Linked DNA regions of Homo sapiens: all the other regions are linked to region 1. Evidence: promoter capture Hi-C in 16 types of primary human blood cells and fetal thymus (Javierre and others, 2016). All regions are on one chromosome and are shown on one strand. Each heading gives the region's core, a stretch centred on a gene start or on the middle of the fragment in contact. The rest is flanking DNA. Distances are from core to core; before and after follow the strand shown.

Region 1 (3,847 bases), core at 879-3,378:
GATGTTCATCCCCCTGGGAGATACAGGCCTTGGGAGAACTGGCTCCCACTATGCCACAAAGCCAATATATATTGAGTATATCCTACCCTGGAGCAAACCAGACAAGGGACATAGTTGGCCAATTCACAGGAGAATACAACAACCACTCAGTGTATAAAAAGAATTTAATAATCAAAGAACTACAAACTAAAACAGAAATTAGATACCATTTTTTATGTATCAAGGTGGTAACATTTTTGTTTTATCATACCCAGGATAAGGGATAGCTTGAAAAAGAGAACAGTCCTAGACCTGTAAGAAGGGATAAAAATTAGTAAACCTATCTAGAAAGCAATTGGGTAACTTGTATCAAAAGCCATTCCATTGTATATGCCTTAAGTCTCAGTAATTTCACTTGTAGCATTTTATTCTAAGGAAATTATCAGACACGCACATAGAGTTACACCGATAGGTACCGGTAAAAAGCTACAAACAGCAAACATGCCTAACAATAAGAGACTGAATACATTATGGTCCATTTTTGGACAGACTATGCAGTCAAAAACTATTCTTTGAAAGAATACTTAAGAATATAAGAAAATGCTTTTGATAATGTTAAGTGGAAAAAATTACACAAATATGTACTGAATATTTTGTAAAAATTATATATATATATATATGAATACACAAAACTAGAAAAAGACTGGGTGGATATACACAAAAATGTTCACAGTAGTTATATCTGTGTTGTGTCTCTTAACTTCTTCACTCATTTCTGTCTTTTCCAAGTGTGTTAACCTTATCATTATAAAGAATAATAAAGCTTATTCGTGTTTTAGTGGATAAAACCAGGACTGATTCTCTGGAGAAGACAATTCCTTCCTGGTGGGAAGGACCACTTAAACTATTAGATCATAATCTCTTTGTAGGGCCACCGAATCAGATCACAGGGTTCTGTCCATCAAGAGTCTAGTACTGGTAAAAGAGGAGACTTAAAGAAGTCTCCTACTCTCCTGTCGTCCTTTCTGCGCTTGCCCTCTCCCTGCAAAGCTCCTACTTGATTCACTGGGACATTTCTGAAAGGCCTAGGAACAGCCCCGGGCGGTACTTCTCTCCCCAGTCCCAGTCCTGAACGTGCGCTCTGCTCCCTCTTCTACCCCTCACCCTTCTCTCTCCTGGATTCGCCTCTGCTGCAACCAAACCCGTAGACTGCAAACGCTAGGAAGGAGACCATGTCTCCCAAGTTTGGGGCTGAGTTTCGTTAGATAGTAAAATCTACCAGCAGGTGCCGCTCCAACCACGGCCCACAGGACCCTTCCCGTTTGCGAGTTGCTGCGGCTCGACTGGGAAACACTCACTTTATCTTGACAGAGTTGAGTGGGAGTCTTGGGTGCACACTGGGACGTCGTGTTTCGTTACTTTAAAAAAGAAAAGTCACTTCCGTCAGGCCCCCCTTTCTCCTCACCCTCGTGTGTGCTTCGAGGCCGAGATGCAGAGAGCAAGAAAAAGGAGCGAAGGGGATCCCTGCGCGTCCCAAGCACCCACCAGCGCCTACGGTGTGAGATGAAGGCGCACCCCCTGGGCGCGAAGCTTTTAAAGCACCTGCCCAGGGAGACATTTTTGAAGTTGTCAGGGCCCCTCCTCTGTCCCCTCCCAGACCCGGGTCCTGCACAAATCCTGGAGGGTTAGCGGGCGAGGCGGCCACCGCAGCGGCCGCCAACGAGCAGCTGCACGGAGGTGCAGAAGAAGGAGGCCACTGCCATTCTCCTGACAAGCTGGGGGCGTGGGAGGCCTCGGGAGCTCGAAGTCGCCTCGAGCGGGGGTGGGCGGTGAGCGGACCCCCGGGTGTTGACCAGGTGTTTGGTGGTAGAGCAGGGAAGGGGGGAACGGACGTCGACCCTAGGGATCCCTCACCCGCTCACGCTCCTTGGCGTTGGCCACACGCCGCCGCTCCAGCACCAACTGGAGGTTTTCAGTGGACGAGTAGCCGCCCGAGGGCAGCCGCTTGAGCCGGCAGACAGCGGCCAGCTGGGGCAGCGGCCCGAACTGCTCCCGCAACACGTCCTCCAGCACCTCGGCTTGCGGGGTGCCCAGGAGCGCGGGCGGCGCGGCGCGGGGATCTAGGACGCCGGGCGCGGGGTCCATGGCAGGGCCGAGGCCGCTGAGGCCGGGCTTTCACCTGCGCACCCGGGGCCGCACGAGGCCCGGGCGGGGGCGGGGCGGGGGCGGGAGCTGGACCACCTGCAACCATTCCCCGGCTGCGTATTCCAATCCCGGCCTCCTCTCTGGAGGCTGCGTCCAGGCATCGCGTTGAATAAGCCGCACAGGTGTGACTCGGGAGCGCTGGAGCGCAGCCCCGGCTGCACACCTGGAACCGCCGGGAGCGTGGTAGTGGTGTTTTTCTCAATCCACATGCCACGGTTCCAGTCCCCCAAATTCCCATTTAATCAATCTGTCTTGGGGCCTGAGCTTCTGGCTATGTGTATACAGAAAAATGTGATGGATATCCACAAAACTTTTTTAAGAATTCGTTTTGAAATAAAAGTTGCGGGGAAAATGGCAAGAAGAGTTTCTAAGAGCTCCTGTACCCCCTTCGCCACGCTCTCTACTTGCTAAGTTTTCACGTTTGCTCCGTTGCCCTCTTTCTCGCTGTGAATATTCTCATTTTCATTATTCTTTTTCCATTCTATTTGAACTATTTTCTTTTTTCGCGAGTGGGGGGATACATCGCTTTATTCATTTTCCCCCTTTTCCACACAGACCTTTATTGTCAACACAGCCAAACACAGTTGTTACTTCAGAAAATGTGCTGGAAAATAGCGATCCCAAACTTGTTTAATAGTAGAGTACAATTTAGTACTCTAGAAATAATTAACTACATCTTCTGTTTTGAGTAGATTACTCATGAGAGTTTGTTTCTCTGGAGGTTATCAATATAACTGGAACATTCTGATCTTGCACCTGAAAATCAGACATGTTTCTGGAAGCCCTCTGTAAAATCATTCCTTCCAAGCATAGAAATACATTTTTTTTTCTTTGGTCTGAGAAAATATTTTTTCTACGCTTTTGTTTCAGGTTCAGGGGTATATGTGCAGGTTTGTTAAGTGGGTAAATTGTGTGTTGCTGAGGTTTGGTGTACGAATGATCCCGTGGCGTAAGTAGTGAGCCTAGTACCCAATAGGTATCCTTCCAACCCACGCCCCCCTCTTACTTCCCCCTCAAGCAGACCCCAGTGTCTATTGTTTCCATCTTTGTGTCCCTGTGTATTCAATGTTTAGCTCACACTTATAAAGTGAGAACAGGCAATGTTTGGTTTTCTGTTTCTGTGTTAGTTCCCTTACAATAATGACGTCTAGCTGCATCCATTGATCTATTCTTTTTTTAAAGTTTTTAAGTTGCAGACATGCTGTCATATCACCTCTAAATACTCCAGTGGGTATTCCCCCTAAACAAGGCCTCTCTTCCACATAACCGCAACACAACCACTCAAACTAGGAAGTAAGCATTGGTACTGTGCTACCATACAATCCATGGACCCCATCAAAGTACCACCAGCTGTCTCAACAATGTCTTTTTCTCTTCTGGTTGGAATCCAATCCAGGAGTACAAGTTTTATTCTGTTGTCATATTTCTACTCTCCTTCATTCTGGACCATTTCCTCCATCTTGTCCTGTCTTCATGCCCTTGACAGTTTAAAAGAGTAGGGGCCTTTCATTCTGTAGTATGTCCCTCGACCTGGGGTTGTCCACTATTTGCTCATGTCCAGACCCCAGCCATGCCTTCATGGAGGGGCTCCATATAAATGATGCTGGGCTCTTCTCAGTGCATCACATCAGGAAGTACATGAGGTTGATCTGCCCCACCACTG
Region 2 (4,397 bases), core at 590-3,089, 130 kb after region 1:
GGTCATCTCCACCTGCACTTGTTTTTCCCCAGCTGCCACTGCAGAGCTCCCAAACAACCCTGCGGGGCCTCCCTCCAGCTGGGCTCAACAGGGGGCTGGGAAGCCAGGCTTGTGCTCAGAGAGGAGGCTGCAGTGGCAGGGCCAGGCCAGAACTCCTGGGGAAGTCACTGAGGCCCGTATTCCCTACACTGAGCTGCCCTTGGAGGTCAAGCCCAAGCCCCCCTCTTCCAGGAAGCCTTCTGCAGGCACCTTGCCCTCTTCCCAAGAGACCCTTCCACATGGCGTGACCTGGAGAGACAGATAGTGTGTGTGTGTGTGTGCACGTGTGTGCATGTGTACATGTGTGTGGTGTTGGATGTCCACCAGTATTTGCTTCCCTAGGACAAGAATGTATTTATAGGCCATGGCTCCTCGTCGTGCTTCACAAGGAGCCCAGAACACAGCTGGACACATAGTAGGCCCTCAGCAAGTCCTCCGCACTGTTCTCACTACAACCCTCCTTCCTCTGTCCCCAGTCCTAGGGTTGACAGATAGTAAAAGTAATGGACAGCTGATGCTTATTGAGCGCTTCCCATGCACCAGGTCCTGTTCCAAGGGTGTGACATAGTCTAACTAGTTTAGTCCTCACCACAACCTTATGGGATACGTGTGAGATTTTTCTTCCAACACCAGGTGTATGGTATGTTCCAACCACCAGCAGGCAGTGCTCCAATTCTCCAGCATCACTGAGTATATTCAACAGTTCAATACTGACACTAATTCCCAGAGCTAGCACAGACCCTACAAGTTAAGGGCTCTGTCCCACAAGACAGTGCCACAGCAGACTCAAGTTCCAGGAGCCACCTGTGCTTCTGAATGGACTGGCCTAAAACCGGGGGCTCCCACATCGCCCTCTGCAGGTTTGACAATTCACTAGAATGACGCACACAACTCAGGAAACACCTCCCCTACACTTGCTGGTTTATTATAAATGACACGAGTGAGGAAGAGCCAGATGGAAGAGACACAAAGGGCAAGGTAAGGGGGAGGTGCGTGGAGCTCCCATGCCGTTTCCAGTGCCCCCATTCCCAGCACTTCCACGTGTTCGCCAACCAGAAGTTCTCCTGGTCTCCTTGTTCAAGACTAAATCCAGGCCGGCCTGGCACAGTGGCTCACGCCTGCAATCCCAGCACTTTGGGAGGCCAAGGAGGGAGGATTGCTCAGGAGTCCAGGAGTTCAAGACCAGCCTTGGCAGCAGAGGGAGACCTTATCTCTAAAAAAAGTTTTTTAAAACATTTTTTACAGTTTACACTGTAAACTGCAGGGTGTGGTGGCACACACCTGTAGTCCCAGCTACTTGGGAGGCTGAGGTGGGAGGATTGTTTGAGCCCAGGAGGTCAAGGCTACAGTGAGCCATGTTAGCTTCACTGCACTCCAGCCTGGATGACAGAGCAAGACTCTATCTCAAAAACAAACAAAAAAAGACTATAATCCAATCTCCATTCCCCTCCCCTCCCTAGAAGGAAAGAATGGGGGCGGCTGAAAGTTTCTACCCTCTAATCACAAGTATGGTCTTTCTAGAACCAGCCCCAGTCCTGAAACTACCTAGAGATCCACCCTGAATCACCTCATTAGCATACAACAGTAAGTCTTATTTATTTATTTATTTATTTATGTTTACTGTAGAGACGGGGTCTCGCTTTGTTTCCTAGGCTGGCCTGGAACTCCTGGTCTCAAGTAATCCTCCCTCCTCGGCCTTCCAAAGTGCTGGGATTATAGGTGTGAGCCACCATGCCCAGCCAATAAGAGTATATTGTTTCCACTTTAAATAGAAGGAAACTGAGGCATAGAAAAGTTAAATAGATAACTTGCTCAAGACTTGCAGCGGGTGCATTCATGGGTAATAGTACCCATGAAGATGGCTTTATGGGTACTATTATCCCCATTTAAGCAAACTGAGCCTCAGAGAGGTTAACTAACTTGTAGCTAGAATTCTGTGGCATTCTCAGTATGTTCACCCATAATTTTGTTCAAAAATATTATTGAATACCTACTATATAGCAGGTACTCTTCTAGGCACTTGGGCTTTGGCTTAGAACAAAACAGACCAGGCATCTGCCCTCGTGCAGCTAAGATCCACAGAGACAAAGACAAACCGCATTTCCAGGAGTGATGAGTGTTGTGAGGGAGCTCAAATGGGGTCATAGGAGAGAGACTAAAAGGAAGTGTTTTACTGGGGTGTTCAGGGAAGGCCTCTTTGAGAAGATGACGTTGAGCTTAGGCCTGAGTGGCAAGGGAGAAACAGCCAGATGAGGAGCCAGAAGGAGACGTCAAGGCAGACGGTAACTATGAAGACGTGAGGGGCAGGAATTGGCATAGAATGTTCTAGAAGTATCAGAAGGCCAGAGTGGCTGGAGCTACAGGGTAATTGGGTAAGTAGGTAGGGGAGGATCATGCGATGCTTAGAGACTATGGTAATACATTGAAGAGAAAGTGACAGGAGATGATTGGCATTTTACAGAGGTTCTCTGGCTGCCACTTGGGGAAGGGACCCACAGGGGAAAGGAGTGGACAGGTGTGGACAGGTAGGAACTACTGACATGGGTCCTGAACAGAGCAGTGGTGGAGGAGAGAAGCGTACTAATGTGAGAGGCACTCTAATTTAGTGCTGGAACATATTAGGACTTGCTCATGGATTATACGCCCAGGGCAAGGGAAAGGAAGTGGTTTGGGTAGAACAACTGGGAGAATGGTGACACCATATAATGAGTTGAGAAACTGGGGGAGAAGCAAGATGGTGGGAGCATAATCAAGAATTTTGTTTTGGATCAGTTAAGTTTGAGATCCCAGCGGAGATGTCAAGAAAGCATGTCAGATTTTGGGGGGAGGGCTGGTTTTTCTCTGGTTTAAGTTATCTGAGAGTCTCTGTCAGAGCTCTTTTGGGGGAAAAGATAAGAAATTCCTTCAAGTGCCCTCAGATAATGGATGGACTCCCCAGGGATTAAAAACAGAAGCCATAGCCTTGTTGAAATTCAATAACAGGAACCATGGTGTAGCCAGGAATTGGAAGAGACTGGAAGCCAAAGGCTCTTTTGGGCCCGAGGGATTCAGCACCAGCTACTCACAGAACTTCCTCCCAGTGCTCTGCTGAGTATGTGCTCCAACTGCTCTCCAAAATATCTGCTTCTCTCTCTGTTTCTTCCTCTCCTCTCCTCTCTTTTTATCTCTTCTCCTCTCTTTTTTCTCTTCTCTTCCTTCTGCCAAATAGCATCTCTACCTTCTTCCCTGGATACTCAGAGGACCCAGGCATGGTCCCAATTCAGGCAGAGAAAACACAGAGCTTGCTCAGGGCCCATTTCCATGGCTAGTCTCTTCTTTAATCTAGCATGCCCAATTCAGCTCAGTTGTCTGCAGATTTAAATCTGAAACCCACTTACAGGATTGGGCAGGCAGAATGGCGAAGCCCTTTCCTTGGCTCTCCACCACTCACAGGGCTCTACAGGACAAAGGGTCCACCAGAGTAGGAACAGTGAACAAGACACAGTGCAGCTGACCTCTGTCCCGGCCTTGCCCAGACTCCATGGCTGTGCAACAGAGGCTAAGCATGGCTGCCCTGGAGAGCAGGGGCAGCCTCAGAGGAATCTCTCTCTCAAGACTATCAAAAGAACCCTCTGCCCACCTTTGTCAGCCCAAGGGTAGCATACACTGAAAGTTCTTCTCATGTCAGAGAACATGGACAGCCCCACTTAGTCCAGTTCTCCTTGGTTTTAGAAACCTTCTGATACACCTTGTCACCATGCTTTGTTTGAAAAAGAAAGTTTGGTGTTTGATTAAAGCAGCATTTCTCAAGGTATGCTCTGGAGACCAGCTGTACGTACAGCTCCCCTGGGGTAAAATACAGATGCCTGTGCCACCCTCAGCCCAGAGGTTCCCAGTCAGATTTCTAGGGAAGACCCCACAACCTATATATTTTTTGTTCCAGGTGATTTAATGCACAGTGATGTCTGAGAATCACTGGCTTATGGAAAAGTGAGCAAATCTGACCAGATGATGTGATCACCATGTTGCTTAAAAGACTTCATCAACTGCCAGCACTTTAATAAGTCTGTGATTATTAGCCCACCGAGTCATCACAACAAAACTATGAGGAAGAGTTAAGAACCCCATTTTACTGGTGGGGAAACTGAGGCTCCAAGAAGTTAAGTAACTTGACTTAAGTCATCTAGCTAGTTAAGGGAACCAGAATTGAATCAGTGGCTGTCTGACCTCTGATTCTCCACGATAGTTTGCTACTATATATTGTCTCCTCCACTATATTGTTTGCTACTTCAACCAAAACACTTACCGTGTTGTAACACTTACTGCTTGCCCATGACCCACCCTGCTAGTGTCTGACAGCCAAGAGGGTCAAAATGGAG
Region 3 (3,969 bases), core at 1-2,500, 170 kb after region 1:
TCCAGGGCTTGGTCTCAGCCTGGCCATTCCTCCCCTGCCCCCCACTCCATTTCTCACAGGGTCACTGAACCTCCCACCCACCCTTCCTAGCTTCAGCCTCTCATCCCCTTTCTTACCCCAGTGCCCATGGATATTGCAGGTCTCTGCTGCTAGAGAGGAGGTGCCTGGGCGCCGAGGGTTTCCTGGATATATGTACACAGACCTGGCCACCATCTACGAGCGGGCGGGCCGCGTGGAGGGTCGGGGAGGATCCATCACACAGATCCCCATCCTCACCATGCCCAACGACGGTAGCCTCCTCACAGCCCACTACCCTCCAGAGCTCCCCTGTCCTCCCTTTTCCAACCAGATACTTAAAGGGCCCACGTTGCTTTGCACAGATGTGCAGCAGCGCTTTTCCTCCATCGAGATAGACACTGCCCTTTCCTCCACCATCCATGCCCCCCACACATCCCTATCACTCCCATGAGGGAAACAGACCCCAGGTGGCCCTGAGTGGTTGGAGACCTGGGCCCCCACCCACACTGAGGCCAGTGAGTTTTCTTGTAGATATCACCCACCCTATCCCAGACTTGACGGGCTTCATCACAGAGGGACAGATCTACGTGGACAGACAGCTTCACAACAGACAGGTACTGCCCTGTCCCTACCCACTTCCTGCTCTCAGCCCAGAGAAACACTGAGGAACAGATGTTTCACTGCCCCCAGGCATGAATTAGGAGGGGCCAGCCAAAGCGAACCCCAAACAGGAGACAGCCACAGGGAAGACTGCATGGTTCACAGACAGAAGACAGGCCTGAGCAGAATCTGGTTTACCTGGCTCTGGGATCTTGAGAAGATAATTTCATCTCTTGGATCCTAGGTTTCCTCATCCATAAAATGGGAATAATCAAATATATCACCCAGACGCATTGTGGAGGATAAAAATAAGTTGGCATATAGAAAGCATCTGGCAGATAGTCAATACTATTTGCCTTCCCTTTCCAGTTATTTGCTTCGGTGGGCAGAAAACAACGGCTAACTAACACACATCTGTCCTGTGTGTAGGTTAAAGGTGACCTCTATGACGTTTTTCTCTTTGCTTGGCAGGTATTTTTTTTTTTTTTTTTTTTTTGCAGCTATTAACCATTAAGCTTCAAAGTGGTTTTTGTCCACATTATCAAAAGTTTTGAAATACTGAGCCTTTTATTAACTAATGCCATGTCATCTTCCCCCTCCACTGTTCTGTCTAGGGCCACATATAAGACAGCTGATGCCCAAGCCCTAGAATTTGTGGGAGATAAGAGAGGGTGGGTGTGGCTGTTGACCCCTCGGAATGTAGGATAAGTGAGGAGCTTCTCCTGAGAACAATTTGGGGACAGGGGGAGCAAAGCTTGAGTCCTGCTGTCCACCACTCCCTTTTTCTTCTCCCTCAGATCTACCCCCCCATCAACGTGCTCCCTTCCCTGTCGCGGCTGATGAAGTCAGCCATTGGGGAAGGCATGACAAGAAAGGACCATGGAGATGTCTCCAACCAGCTGGTAAGGAGAAGAGGGTCCGGGGGCTGGTAGGTCCTCTAGTTTCCGAAGCTGAAGGCCTGAGCCCCATCTGAAGGACAAGCTTTTCTCCTGGCAAAATTCCTTTCCGAACGGGGTCCCAGTGTGGCCAGGTTGGGGGCTACTGGACTCCCGTGGTAAGCCCGCAGCGGCCACCGACGCCTTGCCCCTCCCCCAGTACGCCTGCTATGCCATCGGGAAGGACGTGCAGGCCATGAAGGCAGTAGTTGGGGAGGAGGCGCTCACCTCTGAGGACCTGCTCTACCTGGAATTCCTGCAGAAGTTTGAGAAGAACTTCATCAATCAGGGTAAGGCGCGTCGCTGGTGTGGAGCCAGTAACCTCTTCACCCTCCTTCCGCCCCACACACATTCCTAACACTCCCTCCCGCTCTGTCCCTAGGCCCCTACGAGAACCGCTCGGTGTTCGAGTCGCTGGACCTGGGCTGGAAGCTGCTGCGCATCTTCCCCAAGGAGATGCTGAAGCGCATTCCGCAGGCCGTGATCGACGAGTTCTATTCCCGCGAGGGGGCGCTGCAGGACCTCGCGCCTGACACTGCGCTCTAGCCCCGCGCGCCGTGGCACCCCAACACCGGCAGGGAACCTACCCTCGGCTCCCGGGTCTCCCCTCCCTCGCCACCCCAACCAGCGGCTTCTGCGCCGCCCTCCGCCCTCCGCTGGCTCCGAGGTGGTGGGGGCGCCGCACGCTCCATCCCTTTCCCTCGCTCGATTCCTTTTCCCGCGCTCCATGCCTCCCCCTCGACTCCCGGTGCTGCGGAAGAACTGAAGGTTGCGATGCCTTACTCTGACGGGAGCATCTGTATTTTTATGTTAAAAGCCCACAAAATAAAAATAAAAAGTAACTGAGATGAATTTACCTTCGTTGAAAACAAGATTGGCAAAAGAAAGATAAAAATGAAAGGAAAAGATAATTGTTGAAGCTGGGGGCTGGGGTTATGAGCACACGGAGTTCATTAAACTATTCTCCCTATTTAAAAAAAAAAAAAAAAAAAAAAGCCCAACGCGGATGCTGAGACTGTTGTCCCAGCTACTCTGGAGGCTGAGACGGGAGGATCGCTTGAGCTCAGGAGTTCTGGTCTGTCGTGCGCTATGCTGATATGGTGTCCACACTAAGTTGGGCATCAATATGGTGACCTCCCGGAGACGGGGGCCATTAGGTTCCCTAAGGAGGGGTGAACAAGTCCAGGTCTGAAACCAAACAGGTCATAACTCCAGTGCTGATCAATAGCAGAACCGTTCCTGGGAATAGCCACTGCACTTCAGCCTGGGCAACATAGCGAGACTCTGTCTCTTAAAAAAAAAAATAAAAATTAAATTTAAGCCCGGCGCGGTGGCTCACGCCTGTAATCCAAGTACTTTGGGAGGCCGAGGCGGGGGTCACTTGAGGTCCGGAGTTCGAGACCAGCCTGGTCAACATGGCGAAACCCCCGTCTCTACTAATACAAAAAAAATTAGTTGGGTGTGATATCGCACGCCTGTAATCCCAGCTACTAGGGAGGTTGAGAAAGGAGAATCACTTGAACGCGGGGGGCAGAGGTTGCAGTGAGCTGAGATCGCGCCACTGCACTCCAGCCTGGGCGACAGAGTAAAACTCCATCTCATATTAATTAATTAATTAATTAATTTTTAAAAAGCTGCATTAATGTCTTAACAGTTGACAATAAAATTTTTCTTAGGGAGATAATTATCTTCCTTAAGAAATAGCTTGGGCCAGGAGCGGTGGCTCACATCTGTTAATCCCAGCACTTTGGGAGGCCGAGGCGGGCGGATCACTTGAGGTCGAGAGTTCGAGACCAGCCTGACCGATATGGAGAAACCGCATCTCTACTAAAAATACAAAAAAAAAAAAAAAAAAATTAGCCGGCTGTGGTGGCACATCCCTGTAATCCCAGCTACATGGGAGGCTGAGGCAGGAGAATCGCTTGAACCTGGGAGGCAGAGGTTGCGGTGTGCCAAGATTGCACCATTGCACTCCAGCTTGGGCAATAAGAGTGAGACTCCGTCTCAAAAAAAAAAAAAAAGAAAAAAGAAAAAAGAAAAAGAAAAAAGAAAGAAAGAAATAGCTTGATAGGCTGGGTGTGATAATTCAAGCCTGTAATCCCAGCACTTTGGGAGGCTGAGACAGGATTGATTGCTTGAGCCCAGGAGTTAAAGACCAGCCTGGGCAACATAGTGAGACCCCTGTATCTACTAAAATAATTTTTAAAAATCACCTAGGTGGCACACACCTGTAGTCCAGCTACCCAGGAGGCTGAAGCGGGAGGATTACTTGAGCCTGGGAGGTCAGGCTGCAGTGAGCCGTGATGGCGCCACTGCACTCCAGCCTGGGCTGCAGAGTGAGACAGGGTCGCCCCCTGTCTCAGTAACAAACAAATAAACACACAAATATCTTGATAAATTTCATGTGGAACATGAG

Evidence for each region. The method cuts DNA at HindIII sites, captures the fragments that hold promoters and counts their contacts. A CHiCAGO score of 5 or more calls a contact.
Region 2: a fragment that was not itself captured here is called in contact with the fragment with the promoter of FIGLA in region 1 in 6 of 17 cell types (M0 macrophages, M2 macrophages, M1 macrophages and 3 more); the score reaches 16.0 in M0 macrophages.
Region 3: a contact is called between a fragment that was not itself captured here and the fragment with the promoter of FIGLA in region 1, in 1 of 17 cell types (M0 macrophages). The highest score is 5.1, in M0 macrophages.

What each region holds. Positions count from the first base shown.
Region 1 is chr2:70,788,515-70,792,361 of GRCh38, forward strand. FIGLA (folliculogenesis specific bHLH transcription factor) reads right to left here and starts at 2,129. Exons shown (of 5, transcript NM_001004311.3): 1 at 1,894-2,129. The coding sequence starts at 2,124. The HindIII fragment of the contact is 3,375 bases long and covers 1,568-3,847 here.
Region 2 is chr2:70,922,716-70,927,112 of GRCh38, forward strand. All of the region lies in intron 2 of VAX2 (ventral anterior homeobox 2), which reads left to right. Among named protein-coding and RNA genes, the nearest start is that of ATP6V1B1, 11 kb to the right of the region's middle. The HindIII fragment of the contact is 8,926 bases long and covers 1-4,397 here.
Region 3 is chr2:70,963,023-70,966,991 of GRCh38, forward strand. ATP6V1B1 (ATPase H+ transporting V1 subunit B1) reads left to right here. Exons shown (of 14, transcript NM_001692.4): 10 at 140-290; 11 at 550-632; 12 at 1,416-1,520; 13 at 1,714-1,843; 14 at 1,936-2,409. The coding sequence ends at 2,099. It also overlaps the pseudogene RN7SL160P. Among named protein-coding and RNA genes, the nearest start is that of ANKRD53, 14 kb to the right of the region's middle. RefSeq lists a silencer at 2,144-2,253. The HindIII fragment of the contact is 239 bases long and covers 1,132-1,370 here.